7 separate regions of the Homo sapiens genome follow, and all the other regions are linked to region 2. The links are contacts of gene promoters, found by promoter capture Hi-C in blood cells and fetal thymus (Javierre and others, 2016). All regions are on one chromosome and are shown on one strand. Each heading gives the region's core, a stretch centred on a gene start or on the middle of the fragment in contact. The rest is flanking DNA. Distances are from core to core; before and after follow the strand shown. Region 1 overlaps AKR1D1 (aldo-keto reductase family 1 member D1). Region 2 holds the start of TRIM24 (tripartite motif containing 24). Region 3 overlaps KIAA1549. Region 4 has its middle 31 kb from the start of CREB3L2. Region 5 holds the start of AKR1D1 (aldo-keto reductase family 1 member D1). Region 6 overlaps KIAA1549. Region 7 overlaps LOC124901752 (a long non-coding RNA gene).

The links. The method cuts DNA at HindIII sites, captures the fragments that hold promoters and counts their contacts. A CHiCAGO score of 5 or more calls a contact.
Region 1: a fragment that was not itself captured here is called in contact with the fragment with the promoter of TRIM24 in region 2 in 2 of 17 cell types (M0 macrophages and M1 macrophages); the score reaches 7.1 in M0 macrophages.
Region 3: a contact is called between a fragment that was not itself captured here and the fragment with the promoter of TRIM24 in region 2, in 3 of 17 cell types (naive CD4 T cells, total CD4 T cells and fetal thymus). The highest score is 7.2, in naive CD4 T cells.
Region 4: a contact is called between a fragment that was not itself captured here and the fragment with the promoter of TRIM24 in region 2, in 1 of 17 cell types (total B cells). The highest score is 5.3, in total B cells.
Region 5: a fragment that was not itself captured here is called in contact with the fragment with the promoter of TRIM24 in region 2 in 1 of 17 cell types (M0 macrophages); the score reaches 8.9 in M0 macrophages.
Region 6: a contact is called between a fragment that was not itself captured here and the fragment with the promoter of TRIM24 in region 2, in 2 of 17 cell types (naive CD4 T cells and total CD4 T cells). The highest score is 6.3, in naive CD4 T cells.
Region 7: a contact is called between a fragment that was not itself captured here and the fragment with the promoter of TRIM24 in region 2, in 1 of 17 cell types (total B cells). The highest score is 6.3, in total B cells.

Annotation. Positions count from the first base shown.
Region 1 is chr7:138,111,359-138,114,058 of GRCh38, reverse strand. AKR1D1 (aldo-keto reductase family 1 member D1) reads right to left here. Exons shown (of 9, transcript NM_005989.4): 8 at 287-369. Among named protein-coding and RNA genes, the nearest start is that of MIR4468, 11 kb to the left of the region's middle. The HindIII fragment of the contact is 1,926 bases long and covers 412-2,337 here.
Region 2 is chr7:138,459,007-138,461,706 of GRCh38, reverse strand. It overlaps TRIM24 (tripartite motif containing 24), which reads right to left and starts at 1,448. Exons shown (of 19, transcript NM_015905.3): 1 at 795-1,448. The coding sequence starts at 1,158. RefSeq lists silencers at 577-1,056, 1,087-1,336, 1,397-1,786 and enhancers at 1,297-2,079, 2,483-2,700. The HindIII fragment of the contact is 2,319 bases long and covers 417-2,700 here.
Region 3 is chr7:138,904,500-138,907,199 of GRCh38, reverse strand. It overlaps KIAA1549, which reads left to right. Exons shown (of 20, transcript NM_001164665.2): 6 at 98-281; 7 at 2,119-2,178. Among named protein-coding and RNA genes, the nearest start is that of KIAA1549, 76 kb to the left of the region's middle. The HindIII fragment of the contact is 2,485 bases long and covers 76-2,560 here.
Region 4 is chr7:138,032,202-138,034,901 of GRCh38, reverse strand. No RefSeq gene overlaps it. Among named protein-coding and RNA genes, the nearest start is that of CREB3L2, 31 kb to the right of the region's middle. RefSeq lists an enhancer at 2,463-2,700. The HindIII fragment of the contact is 5,322 bases long and covers 1-2,700 here.
Region 5 is chr7:138,073,826-138,076,525 of GRCh38, reverse strand. It overlaps AKR1D1 (aldo-keto reductase family 1 member D1), which reads right to left and starts at 67. Exons shown (of 9, transcript NM_005989.4): 1 at 1-67. The coding sequence starts at 7. The HindIII fragment of the contact is 891 bases long and covers 875-1,765 here.
Region 6 is chr7:138,870,123-138,872,822 of GRCh38, reverse strand. KIAA1549 reads left to right here. Exons shown (of 20, transcript NM_001164665.2): 13 at 1,461-1,666. Among named protein-coding and RNA genes, the nearest start is that of ATP6V0A4, 73 kb to the right of the region's middle. The HindIII fragment of the contact is 3,494 bases long and covers 1-2,700 here.
Region 7 is chr7:138,014,386-138,017,085 of GRCh38, reverse strand. The region is part of intron 2 of LOC124901752 (a long non-coding RNA gene); the gene reads right to left. Among named protein-coding and RNA genes, the nearest start is that of CREB3L2, 14 kb to the right of the region's middle. The HindIII fragment of the contact is 3,189 bases long and covers 1-2,700 here.

The DNA of each region.
Region 1 (2,700 bases), core at 125-2,624, 350 kb after region 2:
GTACATGATGAATTAATTCTCCTCAGGTTCCTTAGCCTGCATGCCTTCACCGAAGTCACAAAATGTCACAGATGCCAGGACTCTTCTTTTCAGTGAGAGTGTAGGGTTGTGGAAGGCCCTGTAGTGGATGTATTTCCCTCAGGCATGTTAACATTCAGAATATGCGGCCCACCATGCTTTGCCCTGGTGCTATGGACATAGGTCAGGGTTCTTATGAGCCTTGTTGCTTGACACATGACCATTCAATACCACTGGTCAATACCCATTAATGATCCCCGGAACTTACATGAGCAATTCTACAAAGCGGACATTTTTATTCAAGGCTTCAATGTCCTTCATTTCTTCTTCAGTGAGAGAAAAGTCAAAGATCTGAAATAACGGAAATAATAGAACATTTTTGAAGGTCAAGCTTGGGATCAGAAAGTGGGGCCACCGGTGGGAGCCTTCCAAAGATGTATGAATATCTCTGCAAATGTCTAAGAGGAGTCAGGCTGGTGTTGGGGGGCTACCCACTGAGGTGGAGCTGGATACTCTGTTCTGCCCTTTGTTTTTGAGACGGTCTTTCTGGGGACATCTTACAAGAAATTCCAAATGCTCTGAAACCACAAATGTTAATGAAATCCCCTAAAATTTCAAATGTGAAGAATTCTTATTTCTGTATGAAATGCTGGTCTTTTGATTCTGAACTACTGTCTTACACTTAAAAAATTCTGAGTCTCTAAATATGATTTTTTTTTTTTTTTGAGACAGGGTCTTACTCTGTCACCCAGGCTGGAGTGCTGTGGTATCATCTTGGCTCACTGCAACCTCCACCTCCTGGGTTCAAGCTAGTCTCATGCCTCAGTTTCCCAAGTAGCTGGGACTACAGACATGTTTTGCCATGCCTGGCTAATTTTTCAATTTTTGTAGAGATGGGGTTTCACCATGCTGCCCAGGCTGGTCTCAAACTCCTGAACTCAAGCGATCCTCCCACCTCAGCCTCCCAAAGTGCTGCAATTACAGGCATGAGCCTCACCACGCCTGGCCTAAATTTGCTTTTTAAAAAAACTTTTAATTTGCTTTGTTTTTAACTTTTAATTTGCTATGTTGAAATCCTTTCTCTCATTTTTTATGTCTCTTCTACCTTTTTATTCTAATTACATTTCCATTGTTTTATTTTTCTTAGATTTTATACTTTATTTATATTCTGGTTTTATGATTGTCCCTTATTAACATTTATATATATTTTTTCACTTCCTTTTATTTTTAACATTTGGATTATCTGTATATAACCTATCTTCTCTTTATTATTTTATCTTTCTATCCTTTAACTTTTAATATATTTAATTATTAATAGATTTTAATTATATAAGTAGTACATAAATATACGCTCTTTGCAAAGAAATGAAACACTGTAGAAGTACATAGACCCATATGGAATAAATAATGAAAATCTTGTCACTCATCACCCCATTCTTATTTCCCTTCCCAGATATTCCTCCCAAATACTACACACATTAAGAGGAAAATGCAGTAATTGGACCATATCTTTATGATTCTACAACTTTCCTTTATTCACATAATATCTTAGTGACCCCAGTGATAGTTCTATCACAATATGCAACCTGACTTTATTCATTTAGCCATGGTATTCATTGTGTAGATGGAACACGATTTACTTAATTATCCCTCCATGGATTCTTTCCAAGTACTCTTTTCAGGGAACCATTTTCTTTTATGATTTATTATCCAATTATTGGCATTTATGAGATTACATAAGGAATCAAAAATGTGCACAATATAAAAATGAATGAATCGCCTATAAAATGAATCCTTACTCAGACTTCTTTTTTGCTAAACACTAGTCCTCTCCTTTAAGTCTTGGAGGATCAGCCTCTTATCCAGTAAATATATGGAATAATCTAATGGCAAAGTGAGGTTGCAAACCTTGCAAAGATGCAGGATTTTATGAAATCAAAGAAAATGATCTTGGAGATTTGTTCTAATTATAGGTATGATCTTTTTCAAAGAAGAATCCTGCACAGTTAAAAATCTACTTTGATAGATATGTCAAAAGAGTGTGACTTGAAAAAAAAATTAAAGAATTAAAAATCTCCTTCAGATAAAGCCCTCCAAAATTTTTGTGATAATTATTCTCTTTATGAACATTCTGCAAAACTTTTGTGAAATAGAGGATGTCATGTTGTGGTATGTAATTTTGTCAAGCATATTTAAAAAAAATCAACACTGATTCACTGTTTCTTCTGAGTTAATAAACTTGCAATTGTAACCTACATTTTGTTGAGAATAGAAGTGAACTTACTTTCATAAACTTTGGTTTCGATCTTAATATAAGCTTTCAAATTCACCCTCTCTACATTATTTCTGTGTCATGTTTTTTCTTGTCGTATGTGGATTAATTTTCAGTGGTCTTTTTTTTCTCCCATGGCACAAATTATCCTAAGTGAATGAGGATCTCATATTACAAAACTGAGCTCCTGATAGTTCTTCTCAAACTGCTTCCCCTACAGTTTTCCCTTTCAGTAAATGTTTGAAGAAGGAGATATTGTTAACTGTATCAGATGTGGTTGAAAGACCAAGTGGGACAAGGACTGAGAATTACTGGATCTAGCAATGTGGAGGTCACTGGTAACTTTGACAAGGGCTGTTCCAGTGGGATGGTCAGGGTAAAAGTTTGGTTTGAATGGCTTCAAGAGATAG
Region 2 (2,700 bases), core at 199-2,698:
ATGTTTCAAACCTGTCAAAGTTAGCAATGGAACACCTGTCAAAAGTCTAATTTTACAGTAATAAACACCACAAAGAGAACAGTAACTTCCAGCTTTATCTATAAAATACCAGAAAACCCAAATCACTTTGTATTATTTCTCTTCGCCGTCTCAAAATAAAACCTTTGAAAGAGACACACAACAAAACAACGTCTCTTGGTTCCTTTGTCCCCAGCAGAGGAGAGGGAAGAGAACTGGGAACTCATTAAGGTAAAGAGCCCCAAACATGCAAGATAAGAAATAAATGACATCCGATCTGCAATCAATCATCAAAGAAAGTCACCATCACTTCATCTTCATCCCTCCCTTCTCCCCTGCAGCTCAAATAACGTGAGTATAGACGAGATGATCAGGATCATATGGACCTGGACAAAGCTTTGTGGAGGCAGCGGGCGGGTAGCAGTTAACTGGCTGCAGCCGGCAAAGAACCCGAGATTCCGGCTGCAGGAGACTCCGACAGAGGTCTGCAAAAGTGCGAGTGGCAGGGGCCGCCCGGCTGTTGAGAATGCGGAGCAGCGGCGGCGGCGGCGGCGCGGTCAAGTCCACAGCGCCCGGGGAAGTTGCTGGCCGAGCGCGACACGCCGCAGAGCGCGGGCCCTCCATGTCACCGTCGCCAGCACAGACCCTCCTGCTCGCCCCTCCCCCGCCGCGCACCCCGGGCGGCGGCGACATGACAGCGGGTCGCGCCGCACAAGGGCGCCCGCCCCCTCCTGGCCCTCTCCCCGGGCTCCCCAGCGGCCGCGGCCGGTTCTCACCTTGGGTGGCGAACGGCGACGAGCCGCTGACCGGCGAGCCGGGGGCAGGGACGGGTGGCGGGGTCTCGGCCGAGCCCAGCATGGGCGCGGGCAGCATGAGGTAGCGCTGGGGCGCGGGCAGGCAGCGCTGGCAGAAAGAGTGCAGGCAGGGCAGCAGCTTGGGCGCCCGGCTCTGGATGTTCTGGTGGCACACGGCGCAAGTGTCCAACAGGTTGAGCCGGGCCGCCTCGCCGCCGCGCTCCGAGTCCGGGCCCTGCCGACTCTCGGCCTCGTTCTCCCCGCTCGGCGCCGCCGAGGGCCCCCCGGAGGCCGCAGCCGAGGCCGCTGCCGCCGCCGCCACCGCCTTCTCCACCGCCACCTCCATTGTCCTGCCCTTGCCGCCGCCGGGGAAGCGAGAGCGCGGTCTCCGCCCGCCGCCCCCGACGACCTCCTCCTCCTCCTGCGGCTGCTCCTCAGAGGCCGCTCGGTGGACTCGCGGCAGCGCCAGCGAGGGAGGGAAAGCAAACCGGGCGGGGGAAGCCTCCTCAGGCCCACGGGATCCGCCTCCCGAGTGGCGCGGCCGGAAGGAGGGTATCTGTCAGCGGAGACCGTTCCTCGCACCGGGGAGGCTGCACCCCGTCCGCTTCGCCAACCGCCGAGGCGCTCGTGGAATACGCCCAGCCCGCCCTTGCCTCCCCGCCTTTCTCTTCATCCCCCTGGCCCACCTCAGGCCCCGCCCCCGCCCCCGCCCTCCCTCTCCCAGCAACTGAGGCTTCGGTGTGGAGCGCGCCGCCCAATAGCGGCCGCGCCTGGCGAGGGGGCGGGACCTGTTGGAGCCCGCGAGGCTCCGTCGGCCGCGGCGGGAGGTTGGGAAGTGGGAGGTGCTTGCCCAGCCCCGCCCCCTCCGGACGCCTGAAATCGCGGCTTCTGATTGGGCCTTTGTGTATGTTTCCTCCTCTGAAAAGATTAAGGGTTCATTTGTTAACGACCATCCGCCTGATTCGGTCCGCGGTGTTAGCTCCTCCTAGGGGGCGGGACCTCACTTGTCTACTCAATGCCGTTAATTAAGTAACTGCTTGGAAAACTGATTTCATTACTGGAGACCTGGTCTTGTAGGAGGAGTAAATATGGTCGGAGGGTCACAGGAGGAAGGAGTGGAGGTACTGAAGAGCAAACAAGGAAATAATTTTTTAAAATACTGTGTGAAAGAGGTACTCTGGAGGCAGCAGGGATATTGCAACCTAATTTTACTCATCTCTAGAATGAATGAGTATGAAGAATAAGGGGGGGAAGTTCTCGTGCAAGTTGGAAATTTTTAAAGGGTTTCCCCAATGAAAAAGGTGAAATTAATTTTTAAAGTCAGTGATTTGCTTTTTAAGTGACTAAAAGTGGTTCGTTTTCCCAGGAATTAATACAGATTGACAAATGTTTTTATTGCATAAATATAGCATCATTAAGCAAAAATAAACCTCAATACTGTTACCCAAATAATTCATAACTTCAGGATTCTTTTGTATTTCCTCCCTCCCTCTTATTTTATTCCCTCCCTCCCTCCCTCACCTCTCTACGCTGATATCAGAAGTTACGCACATTTTTCACTCAAAAAATGGCGCAGCTTTTAAGGAACTTGAAGAATAGAAACGGAATGAAGGAAACAAGATTTTGTAACACGTAACTTTAAGAAGTATTTACCTTTTTTTTTTTTTTTTGTCAATACTAATGAAGCGGTACTGGACTTTAGAGAAAGATGGAGTGGGTCATGAAAGGCTTTGCTAAAATCACAGTTTTCCTGGAGGACTATATGGGATGGCAATGGGGGAGGGCTAGGCAACGTAGCCTTCCTTCAAGACCTTGCCCTTAAACACAACCTCCGTAGGCCTCAAGTGAGAGGTTCTTTTACTTAATCACAAGACATTCAACAGCTCTT
Region 3 (2,700 bases), core at 69-2,568, 450 kb before region 2:
AAAAAAATCGGTGAGAGGACCTGTGAGAGAGAAATCATGGTTAAGCTTTCAGCAGAATGTTTTATTATAGAAGCTTATTCTGACTTTATTCTTTCAGATCTTGAATATCACCATCAGTTCCTCAAGGGTGACTCCTCGGCGGGGCCCGGTGAATATCATCTTTGCGGTTAAAAGCACACAGGGATTTTTGAATGGGTCGGAAGTGAGCGAGCTGCTCAGAAACTTGAGTGTGGTGGAGTTCAGTTTCTATCTGGGATACCCAGTGCTGCAGATCGCAGAGCGTGAGTACAGCCCTCTTGGACATGCTGGGGAGGTGATGGCGGGCATTTTTGGTGGAAGACCTCTTCTTAAAATTTTTTTAGTTTTTTAAAAGACTTGATTTTTTAAAAATTATTTTTCCATAAGGCGTTGGGGTACAGGTGGTATTTGGTTGCACGAGTAAGTTATTTAGTGGTGATTTTTGAGATCCTGGTGCACCCATCACCCGAGCAGTATACACTGCTCCACATTTGTAGTCTTTTATCCCTCCTCCCGCCACTCTTCCCCCCAAGTCTCCAAAGTCCATTGTATCATTCTTATGCCTTTGTGTCCTCATAGCTTAGCTCCCACATATCAGTGAGAACATACGATGTTTGGTTTTCCATTCCTGAATTATTTCACTTAGAATAATAGTAAAAGACTTGAGTTTTTTTAGTGAAGTTTTTGGATTCACAGCAGATATGATCGGAGAGTTCACAGATTTCCCATATACCTCCTGCTTCCGCACATTCATAACCTCCATTATCAGCATCCCCCAGCACAGTGGCCCATTTGTTACAGTGATCAACCTGCATTGGTTGATCCTGCATCATTGGTTGAACCTGCATCATCATCCATAGCCCATAGTTTACATTAAGGTTCACCCTGGGTGTCGTGCATTCTGTGGGTTTGAACAAATGTGTAATGACATGCAAATGGCATGGATTCTCCATTTTAGTATCATACAGAGTATTTTCACCTGGACCACTTTTTTCAAATGAAATATCTGATTTGAGTGCCAGAATATAAATCTGATAAAACTGGATTCAGGCCAGATGGGTCTGCAGAGCCCTGCTCACCCACCGTGCCTGACTTTATTATTTGGAGAGTAAAGGGGTGCTATCAAAAAGTACACGAATTCTGGAAAAGGCATAATTTAGGGAGGACGAATCTGTGGTTGTCAGAGCTTAAGGGCCGCAGGAAAGTTTGACTACAAAAGGGTAGCAGAAGGCAGTGTTTTGGGGGTTGTGAAACTGTTCTATATCTTCATTGTGGTGATGATTATGTGAATATATACACATTTATCAAAACCCATAAAACTGTATACTGAAAAGAGTGACATTTACTGTGTAAATTTTAAAATAAAAACAATAAGTGAAAACATGAAACCTTTCTTCCTGACTGAAGCAACTAGCTTCACAATGCCAATGGAGGCAGTGGGGGAAAGGGGAGACGTTTATTTAAAAAAAAAAAATAGTAGATTCCAGAGTTGAAATCAGGCCAAAAAATTCCAATTCTTTTTCAAAATGAAACAACCAAATGGCCTAATGATTCGTAGTGTATTTTAGTGTATTGTTAATTAAACTAAAAAGAATAACTTTACAGAAGTTATTCTATATGAAAGTAGACAGAGATAAAGCTGTTATTTACAAAGAGCCGCTTTCAGTTGTGCTCAGTGTGTGTATGGCTAAAATGAGGATGCCGGACGGCGGGGCACACTGGCTGGTCCTGGGCAGGTCAACGCATGTGGTCACTTTACCCTGAGACCTTGCTGGGAAAGCCAGGGCTCTGAGGGGCACGGTGTGAACATGGATTGCTGTGGAACAGTGACATTCAAAGGAGAACTTGCCGGTGACCTCTCTGTGAAGCAGTGTCCTGTGACATAGCTGGAGCGGCCCTTCTTTTCTTTTTATCTCTCTCTTTTTCCTTGAGACTAATGTGTTCAGAAATGGCTACTGTCCACGTCCTCACGCTAATCTGACATTTTGTTCTTTCACATTTAGAGCTAAATAGTAAAGACGATGTGTTGGGACTTTGTTGTAAACATGGCTTTGTTTTTACAGATATTTTTCTCCTTCCCTAATTCTTTCCCTTTTGTAGCCTTCCAGTATCCACAGCTCAACTTATCTCAGTTGCTGAAGTCCTCTTGGGTCAGAACAGGTATGTTTAACTTATGTAATATTTTGGGAACTGTAAGGAGAAGAAGTCTATGCAGGCGTATTGAGAATGATGCTGCCTTTCTTGTTTCCTAAATTTAGGGCAAAATGTACCTTACATTCTTGGCAAAGAATGAATGGAAAGGGATTCAAATTTGGCTGTGGGAATATATCCCACTGAGTTATAGAACAAAAAGGACTGACTTTCTTTAAAATTCATACATCAAGTTCAGGGCAGAGTCTAACAGGAACTGACAATCTTCTGACCCAGAATAGGGTGAGGTTTAGAAGCAAGGATCTCTCTCTTGTTTTATTTTTTTTTTTCTAAAAGTGTTATTTGTTTAGTTTAATAAGGACAAGCAGGGTGGCTTGGCACCTGGGAAGCTTTTTTTTTTTTTTTTTTTGTCTTAGGGGAGTGGGTCAGATATTTAGAGGTATGGCATTGCAGTTGAAGGCCTTTCTAACCTAGTGCACAAAAGTCTGAACAGTACTTACGTACTCACCAGCTGTCCAGTGTGCATGCAGC
Region 4 (2,700 bases), core at 101-2,600, 430 kb after region 2:
CCTGCCATGTTTCGGAGGCCTCCCCAACCATATGGAACTGTAAGTCCAATTAAACTTCTTTTTCTTCCCCGTCTCTGGTATGTCTTTATAAGCATCATGAAAACGGACTAACACACCCTTTCTTATGTTAAACACCCAAGAGTATCCCTGTTGTAATAACTATTTTAGAAAAAAAAAAAAAAATCAGGTAAGGCTGGGTACAGTGGCTCATGCTTGCAATCCCAGCATTTTGGGAGACCAAGGCAGGAGGATCATATGGGGTCAGGAGTTCAAGAGAAATCTGGCCAACATGGTGAAACCCTGTCTCTATTTAAAAAACAAAAAAATTAGCTGGGTGTGGCAGTGCATGCCTGTAATCCCTGCTATTCAGGAGCGTGAGGTGGGAGAATTGCTTGAACCCAGAAGGCAGAGGTTGCAGTGAGCCAAGATCGTGCCATTGCACTCCAGCCTAAGTGCCATTGCACTAAGCAACAGAGTGACTCTGTCTCAAAAAAAAAAAAAAAAAAAAAAATCAGGTAACACAATACAAAAGCAAGCAGATTATGATATGAGAGGACTTTGTCTGTTTAAACTCTTGGGGGTCATAAAAAAAACAGAGGTTTTGCCCCAAAAAGGAGTCTAGCACCTTCTGTTTTCTTCAAGGAAGCCCAGGCTGTTAGAAATTATTTTAGTTTGGCTGGGCATGGTGGCTCACACCTGTAATCCCAACACTGTGGGAGGCCAAGGCAGTCAGGAGTTCGAGACCAGTCTGGCCAACGTGGTGAAACCCTATTTCTACTAAAAATACAAAAAAATTGGCCAGGTGTGGTGGCAGGCACTTGTAATCCCAGCTACTTGGGAGGCTGAGGCAGGAGAACTGCTTGAACCCAGGAGGCAGAGGTTGCAGTGAGCTGAGATCACACCATTGCACTCCAGCCTGGGCAACTACAGCAAGACTCCATCTCGAAAAAAAAAAGAAATTATTTTAGTTCCCTCATGCAGCAGAGGGTGGCAAGAGGAAGGAGAGACAGGTAGAAGTAAATGGAGAAAACATAATTCAGTCAACTGCGAAGAAAAAAACCTTTTTCTCAAAAAACAAGACCCTAGAGAGAAAGAAAACATAAAGGCCTTTTAAATATATATATATACATTATACATATTATATTATGAATTTTATATTATAGATAATATATAAATATGAATTACATATTATATAGGTAATATATAAATATGAAAATGCACACAGAGACACATTTACATCTTGGATATTAGCTTTTAATTAAGCAGACTTTTAACCTTTGAGCTCTTAAAAAATCCTTTTAAATCTCAATACCATTTTTTAGCTGGGACAAACTACTGATATTTCAAAAGTAACAGAAATGTCAAGCCAGAGATAACCTGATTTAGGAACCAACCCAGGCTGTCATGGTGAAAAACAGGGTGGAATCTTAGCTACTGATTACAATGTGAAGTCATTGCTCTATCAGTTTGGCTTGGCTAGCAAAAGGTGGCCTAGTTATGCAAATGCAGTCCCTCAAGTAGTAAAACTCTTTCTTTTTTTGCTGGCCGTTTTTTTTCCCCCCCGGCTATGGGAATTTAGCTAATTCAGAGGCTTTGTTCCGCATAATTTGGAACTTTTTTTCAGACTTGATCAAGTTGGGTAGAGTTGGTCAAACCCGAAGGAAAAAGATCAAAACAACAACAAAAACAGAAACAAAAAACAGTTAGCAAAACAAACAATTGCATAATTTATACAATAACTGAATACTCTAATGGTAAGGAAAAATTAAGATCAGCTGGTTGTTAATGTTAACTTTAGTCATTAAGGAGAATTTCCAAGACAAAACCCAAATTCAGCTACTTATCTAGGAATGGGGCCCAGGCTGAAGACTGCGCTCTACCATCTTAGAAGCAGGAAAAATCTCAAACATTCCTTCCCTGTTGGAAGTGAGCTGAAGCTCCAGGAATGAGTTGGCTGCTCTCCATCGTCATGGAAGCAAAAAAGCTGGCCTTCTTGTTGGAAGTGAATAAAACTCCAGAAAAAGGAGTTGTACAGCAAAATAAACCTTAAATCGCAACCAAATTTGGGGAGATCAAGGATTCTGTGGAGGGGAGTAGCTCCCAGACCTCAGCAAAATGTCCTGTTGGTTTGAGCAATAAAGATATTCGTTCACGCTGGTACCAAGCACCAATAGGAGATTTGTCAAAGGTAAGGGACACCTCCACTCAGAGTCCCTTACCTGGGTTGCCAATTTATAAACCAAAAAGTATTCAAGAGAGGTCTCAATTGATTAGAACTTTATTTTGCCAAAGTGAAGGATGTGTGCCTGGGAGACAGGCCTGTTTCTTTCTCCAAAGATGATTTTGAGGGCTTCAGTACTTAAAGGGGAAAAGCAGGCTGGAGGAGACAGAGGGAGGATATGGTCACATTACTGAATCCACATGTTGTAAGAGAAAAAAAGTAGGTAGGGGAATAGTCAATTATGTATTCATCCTGTGCTCACTATACCATAAGGTGACCACAGAATAGCTACTTGTGGAGATTTTTAACTTATCTGTAGCTTGCTGCTTAGTAACAAAATGGAAAGTAGCTTCTTGCATGACTCAGTTTTCAGGTTAATTTTTTTTTCTTTTGGCAGAGTGAGTTGGGATCCCAACTTTCTACTTTCCTTTCACAGATCATATATTTAAATGTGAAAAGTAAAAATATAAAGCTGTTTG
Region 5 (2,700 bases), core at 71-2,570, 390 kb after region 2:
GATCCATTGTGGAGAACCTGACTGTAGGAGTGATTCTGAACACCACAGGGAGTCTTTTTAGAAAGGTGTCCTAGGGCCTATTCCATCAAAGAAAGGAAGGCCAGAGGGAGGAGCAGAGGGAAGGGAGATTAACACACCTATTTCTCAACCTGTTTTTTTTTCCAGGTTGTCCTGGAAATCCTAAGCATGGTTGTCCTTTGAACTTCATCAGAGGCTTGTAAAACGTAACCTATTGAGAGTTTATGCTTACTTCTTCACAACAAAAGATTGAAAAAACAAAAAGAAACAAATCTGTCTGGCCTCTATCAGTTAGGATGCTTTTGTTGGCAAATAAGAGACTGACATAGTTTGGCTGCGTCCTCAACCAAATCTCATCTTGAATTGTAGCTCCCACAATCCCCAATGTCATGGGAGGGACTCAGTGGGAGGTAATTGAATCATGGGGGTGTTTTTTTCCCATGCTGCTCTTGTGATAGTGAATAAGTCTCACAAGATCTGATGGTTTTATGAAGGACAGTTCCCCTGCACATGCTCTCTTGCCTCCTGCCATGTAAGACATGCCTTTGCTCCTCTTTCACCTTCTGCCATGATTGTGAGGCCTCCCCAGCCATGTGGAACTGTGAGCCCATTAAATCTCTTTTTCTTTGTTAATTACCCAGTCTTGGTTGTCTTTATTAGCAGTGTGAGAATGAACTAATACACACATCTATCTTAAATTCTCTTAAACTATAATGGAAATTTATTGGTTCATATTCCTCAAATTCTGGCAGTAGGGCTAGCTTCAGGGGAGACTAGACATTTTCTAGGACTTCCTGGGAGATTTGGATGCAGCAGGACTGGAAAGGGATCTAGGATCTTTATCACAAGTTAAGCTTATCACCAGTTAAACTGGACTAGAGGAACAATAACATGGCCAGGACCAATTTCTCACTTCTCATTCGTCTCTCTGCCTTCCTGTTCTCTCAGGAAACTCTCTCTCTCAGTTCCCTTAACATTGAAAAGTGTTTACTGACTGTCCTTGGAGTGACAAGGTTTCCAGCTCAAACAACGAAAAAGAGATTTTACTTTCTCAGTAGCTCAAACAGTAGTCCTGAAATTGAAACTTGTTAGCCTTGATTGCCTTTCTTGGTTCATGGATCCATCGTGAAATCAATCACAGTGGCCAAAGGAAATAAAAGACATTTCCTTAAAAAAATTAGAAGCCATTTCCAAATTTGGAGCTGGGGGTTGAAGGAGGCAGGAAATTCCACCCCAACATATGGCTCCCTGGTATAATGAAGATTTTGAAGTAAAGACCCTTAGAGATCAACGGGCTCTGGAAGAGACTTTCCCCTGTCTACATAAAGATAGGATGGACCCACCAAGGAGGACAATTGTTCTTTTTCCCCTACCTGTTATCTCATGATCCATTACAAAAAAAGAAGACAAAGAATGTGTTGGGAGTCAGAAACTGATACCCCAAAATATGGCACTTTGACATACTGAACTGGAAAAGCCTCAAGGTCCCTCTGACCTCTACTCCCTACCACCTCTCCCAAAGTGAAGTTCCTTTATCTGCCTAAGATCCAGACCCACCAAAAGGAACAATTCGTTTTTCTTCCTCTCCCTGTAAGACTAAGAATGTAACCTTTCCTGAACAAACCCTTTCACAAGGTAATGTACAAGTTAATCTCTACTCCCTGATCCATTCATTCTCCCTAGTGATCTCCTCAACAGAATTCCTCTTTTCCCCTCTCCCATAACCTGATTTACCAGTAAATAAGCTTCTAAACCCTGTTGTGGGTGGGTAATCACTCTGTGGTTCTCCCTGTGTAAACATATAGTTAAATAAAATTGAATACCTTTTCTCCAATTAATCTGCCTTTTGTGAGTTGATTTTTCAGTGAAACTTCAGAAGGCAAAGAGGAAGTTTCCCTGGCCTGTACACTTCACAGGTCACTGAGTCCACAATGGTTAAAATGTCCTGAAGTTGAAACTGGCCAAATTGTCCCATATTTATGGATTTTTGAATAAACATAGAAATGTGCCCTCTGTCTTAAAACTTGAAACTTATGTCTTAACTGAGTTTTTTCCTCAGGAAACTGACCCTCAGGCAAGGGACTGAAACTCACTAGATCACCACATCCTGATACTGAGATACCAAATACCTGATTCATCAGGATTTCTTCTTTATCCCTCCCTAATTTCTTTTCGCACCTTCCCTGCTATGTAAACAGATCAATTTTGGTCAGTCAGGGAGACAGATTTGAGACTGAACTCCCACTTTCCTTGACTGCAGGACTAGATTAAAGCCTTCTTCTCTGGCAATCCTTGTTGACTTAGTGATTGGCATTCCGTGCAGGGAGCATCACAATCTTGACTGAACTCCAGGTATTTCAGCAATAAAGTTTGTCTATAATTGACTTGCCCTCCCTCCAACAGTCATTCTTGCTTATGTACACATTAACACATAACGTATATATAACATGTTCAGTATTCAGCTAGACACAGTAATTTAAACTAGGCTGTGGCAATGTGGAACATAGCAGTAATGGTCTTTAATATCATTTTTAAATTGATACAACAAATGCTTACTGTGCACCTTTGTGTGCTAAAATGTTGATTAGCATGTGTTTGTTATTTTTATTATTACTGAGTTTTTGCTATTTAGTTCTATGCATTTTAACACATATATAGATTTTTGTAACCACCACTACAATT
Region 6 (2,700 bases), core at 19-2,518, 410 kb before region 2:
AAGGGATCCTCCCACCTCAGCCTTCTGAGTGACTAGGACTACAGGCATGTGCCACCACGCCCAACTAATTAAAAAAAATTGTAGAGACAAGGTCTTAACTATGTTGCCCAGGCTGGTCTCAAACTCCTGGGCTCAAGCAATCCTCTTGCCTCAGCCTCTCAAAGTGCTGGGATGACAGGCATGAGCCATTGTGCCTGGCCAGTTGATCTTCTTAAGTGTGAGTAACTAGCTCTTTCTACTCAGCCCGTCTTCATTTTTCTCTTTCTCTTTTTTCAAAATTAAAGTGTATTGGGATTATCTCTACTGTAAAAATAATACTTATTACAGAAAATCCTCATTATCAAAAATAAAAGACATGGGGAAAAATCACCCATCATGTGAAGATTCAGTCTCTGTTAATATTTTTAAGTGTTTCTTTTCTGTCTTTTTTTTTGTGCATTTGAATTTCTTTTTTTTTTTTTTCACAGTTCTGATTAGTTTTTAAGAAAATTATTGTGGTTGAATATACATGGCCTAAAATTTGCCATGTAACCATTTATACATGTACTCTTCAACTGTTTTTAAAGTAGGAACTAGCGCCGGGCCCGGTGGCTCCTGCCTGTAATCCCAGCACTTTGGGAGGCCGAGGCAGGTGGATCACTTGAGGTCAGGAGTTCAAGACCAACTTGGACAATATCGTGAAACCTTGTCTCTACTAAAAGTATTAATACAAAAGTTAGCTAGGCATGGTGGCATGCTCCTGTAATTCCAGCTACTCAGGAGGCTGAGGCAGGAGAATCACTATCCAGCCTAGGCGAGAGAGTGAGACTCCGTCTCAAAAAAATAAAAAATAAATTAAAAAAATAAATAAAGTAGGAACTAATTCCCTGCAAGCAACAGGTTTTTTCTTCTCATGTGTCTTCAACTTCGTTTTCTTTCCACATCAGAACTGAAAAGTCAGAAGTGTGGTCACTGTTAACTGGTACCTGCCTGCACGTACTGGTCTTCTGTTTTCTCTGTAGTACGACATTGCCTTGGCAGCTGAATTTGTATCACTCCAGCGAGCTCCCTGCCAGATGGTAGCAATAGTTCAGAGCCGCTATAAATGTGTTTTCTGAGAGTTCTGTGAATGGCTTATTGACTACTGAGCAACTTCAGGCTCCTTCTGTCCTATATTCTTTCTGAATGAAGATTTTGAACCACAGACAAAACAGTGCAGTTTTTCACACAGTATCATAATGATTTCCTCACGTCTCTTCTTAGGGTACTTGTAATTTTTAATGAAGTTAGAGGATACAGTATATAGCCCAGACTATTTAAGCTCAGAGAGTGAAATTGTAAACACTCTGCTACTGCAGTGGGGATGTATTTTTGGTCAGAGGCCCATCCAAAGATTCTTTAAAGAATAATTCACAATTTTGATTAGTTGCTGTTTCTTTAGATGACTTCGTGTATGTGTTTTGCTTTTCCTTCTGTTCCAGGGCCACCACTGCCCAGTTCGGGAAATGAGCAGCACTCATCAGCCTCCATCTTCGAGCACGTGGACAGGATCTCCCGCCCCCCGGAGGCTAGCCGGCGGGTCCCCAGTAAGATCCAGCTTATCGCCATGCAGCCGATCCCGGCACCTCCCGTCCAGCGCCCCTCCCCAGCCGACCGAGTGGCGGAAAGCAATAAAATCAACAAAGAGGTATTTGCTTTTATTTAAAAGTCTGTTACTTAAAAAACTCGGCTAAGCCCGGTGGCTTATGCCTGTAATCCCAGCACTTGGGGGGGCCAAGGCAGGCAGATCGCCTGAGGTCGGGAGTTTGAGACCAGCCTGGCCAACATGGTGAAACGCCATCTCTACTAAAAATACAAAATTAGCTGGGCGTGGTGGCGGGTTCCTGTAATCCCAGCTGCTCAGGAGGCTGAGGCAGGAGAATCACTTGAACCCGGGAGGGGGAGTTTGCACTGAGCCGGGATCTCGCCACTGCACTCCAGCCTGGTTGACAGAGTGAGACTCCATCTCAAAACAAAAACAAAAACAAAAAAAACTCACACACTTATTGGGTCTGTGTTTGAAAATGAGTGCAAGGTACAGTGTCAACTAGTTACTGAAGGCATAAGCTGCTGACAAGGATTCTTAATGTAAAACATCACGCTTGTTGGAGATCAGATACTGTGCATGGACACTCTGGGGCGCATTGGCAGACATGCAGAAAAGTGTTAGTGCGGCCGACCAGGGGCTGCCCTCCTCAGAAAGAGCCACTTCAGCTTCTGATCCTCCTCACGCTTCAACGCAGTTCAGGTTTCCGTCTTTGGGGATACCACTCTGGGGGCAGGGGGTCTCATGTCAGGTAACTTGTTTTGGTGACACTAGGTAATTATCCTCTTTATATCTGTCAGTCCTATTTATTAAAGATCTCTAAAGGAGGAAAATATTCTTTTCTGGTTATCAGATGTCTCTTTAAAGTTGTCATTGGCCGATTTCCAAGGTTCGAGTGACTTTTTTTCCCTGCTTTGGGGGATGGTGACAAGACTCCAGTGCACCACACAGTGCTTGAGGGTAAAGCTCGTGGGATGGCAGGGTCTCTGCTCCTCCCTGGTCTGTGCCTGTCGCTCTCTCGGTGACTCCGTGGAGCTTACAGACAGCAAGTTAAGTGTGGGCCAGAGGAGAGGAGCATAGCAGGAAGGCGCTCCTAGAAGGCTTTGCTGGCTGGGCATGGTGGCTCACACCTGTAA
Region 7 (2,700 bases), core at 183-2,682, 440 kb after region 2:
CTTCATCTGTATTTACAGCCACTCGCCATTGCTTGCATTACTGCCTGAGCTCCGCCTCCTGTCAGATCAGCAGTGGCATTAGATTCTCATAGGAGTATGTACCCTATTGTGAACTGTGCATGCGAGGGATCTAGGGTGTGTGCTTCTTATAAGACTCTAATGCCTAATGATCTGTCACTATCTTCCATCATCCCCAGATGGGACAGTCTAGTTACAGGAAAACAAGCTCAGGGCTCCCACTGATTCTATATTGTGGTGAGTTGTAGAATTATTTCATTATATATACAATGTAATAATAATAGAAATAAAGTGCACAATATATGTAATGTGCTTGAATCATCCCCAAACCATTACCCTCTTCCCGGGCTCCATGGAAAAATTGTCTTCCACGAAACCAGTCCCTGGTGCCAAAAATGTTGGGGACTGCCGACTTAGAAGATTTAGCTGTTTCTATTAAACAACATTAAATGTCCTATTTATCAAAAATTACACAAGCAAAGATCATTCTTTTTGGGGCTAGGTTTATAGTTTTTTAACTTTTATGCCAAATTTTGATGCCTTATAATATCTGGCAGAGATAAGTATGAAACCACTTGATCAATAAATCTGAACAAAAATGTATATTGACAATTCATAAGACATTTCTAATATTATTTTACCAATAATTTTAAAGCCAGCTTATTTATTCAAGATTTTCCTTAAGTCTCATGAGTACTCCTTAACTTCAAGTCAATTTGGTACCTTGTAGCAGCAACATATAACAAAATACATGTGTGTACACATAAACACACATATACACACTCATATAAACAAAGATCTTATAGCTTTCATTTTTGAACTCTAGCTAAGAGATATCAATGCAAACTCATCTGTTTATTAAAAAACAGTTGAATCCAAATGGTGGTTTTTGTCTTAACACCGGTAAAGTAACAGCAGATTTAAAGCAGGCAGAAAAGAAAATAGAGGAATATATAGTCTGGCCAGCCTCTGCATAGGAGCCAGGTTTTACAAGCAGGGCATGAGAAAGAGGAAAAGGAAATAAGAAGAAACAGTAAAGCGATAGAAAGGGAGCTCGTGAGCTTCCAGCCACTACACGGCACAGGGTTGATACTCCCATCACCCCTGTTTATCTCCCATTCAGGAGAGCCTCAGCACCCCAGGTCCACATGATATGGGATGGGACCCTCCCACCTTCACAAGTCACTGGTCAAGATGAGCTGTTTCCAGTCATAGGGAGCTAGGGAAGCCTGCAGTTGAGAGGACTAAGGCTGTAGGTGGCTCTCTGAAGATAGTTAGAAGAGTGAGATTGGAGGTAGAGAGGAAAGAAAGAAATCAGGGCCCATTCACAAAGTACATGCAAACAAACAGCATACTTCCAAATGAGTCTCCAATCAAGGAGGCTGAGTGAGATGCTGAATGCCCCTCCCCAGGTCCAAATGGTTCCATAGGCCCAGCAAAGCTCCCATGGTGCCACACTTACAAACAGAAACACCTAAAATGCTCAAATGGTGTCACTAGCAGCCAAGTCTTAGGTAGAACCGGGCCCCAGTGACACCCCAAAAGAAGCAGAGGGTGATCAGGTGCACTTCCAGCTAACTCAGCCACTTCCAAAGTTTGCCGGGTCTTACAGAGGTCACTTTCTTTATACCAGCAGAGAGTTGAAGGCAGCAAATGTGCTGTGAGGCGAAAGGGAGGCTCCCCCAAACCAAAAGCATTTTTGGCAGCTGCTGAGAAGTTCCTGAATGTTCCTGTCATGAGATCTGCTAGCCATGAGCAGCTGGTGCTCACAGGTGACCCCAACAAAACCTTGCCCGGTAGCAAAAGCCGGCTGTCAGGCACAGATTCACCCAGAGCATGCAGCACTTTCCCTATATGGGCCACCAAAATTGTAACCGAAATGCAGGTTCAGCTATTTGCTGCTTGCAGAGTCCAGTTAATAAAAGTGAGTTCTGGTATAAAGAAAGTGATTTTTTTTTTTTAAATTATTCCAAAGCTAGCTGAGGGGAACAAGTACAGGCTTCCTGCCTAGGGGTATCACTTTGCTTTTGGAGCAGGAAGTAAGCACTTTTAAAGGGGGCTTAACATGAATGGCACATGGGGTCGGGGGAAGTAAGCAAGTGCAGCATCTACATGTTAGTTTGGTACCTTATCTACTAGGTAGTCAAGGTGGTGACTGCCTGTGTCTTTGTGGGCATGTGTACTTTGGGTTGTAAATTGACTGTTATCTCTCAAGGCAACCTCCTGGTGGGTGAGATTTCCTTTCTGGAGCTCCTAAGCAGATAGTTAGATGAACTTACCCTGTAGGGAATGTCTGGTGAAGGGGAGGTAAAAGGCTATATTTGCATTTCTAAAGGACTAACTAGAAAGTGGGAAAAGGAGGAAAGAGAAAAGAAGATAGAAAAAATAAATTATCTCTTAGAAAAATGGGGATGGTTGGTTACAGTTCCAGCTACTTGGGAAGCTGAAGCAGGAGGGTTGCTTGAGCCTGGGAGGTCAAGGCTGCAGTGAACCATGATCACACCACTGCATTCCAGCCTGGGTGACAGAGTGAGACCCTGTCTCAAAAATGAAAAGTGATACGGTTTTGCTCTGTGTCCCCACCCAAATCTCATCTCGAATTGTAATTCCCATGTGCTGAGGAAGGGACCTGTAGTCCCCATGTGTCGAGAAAGGGAGATGATTGGATGATGGGGGCAGTTT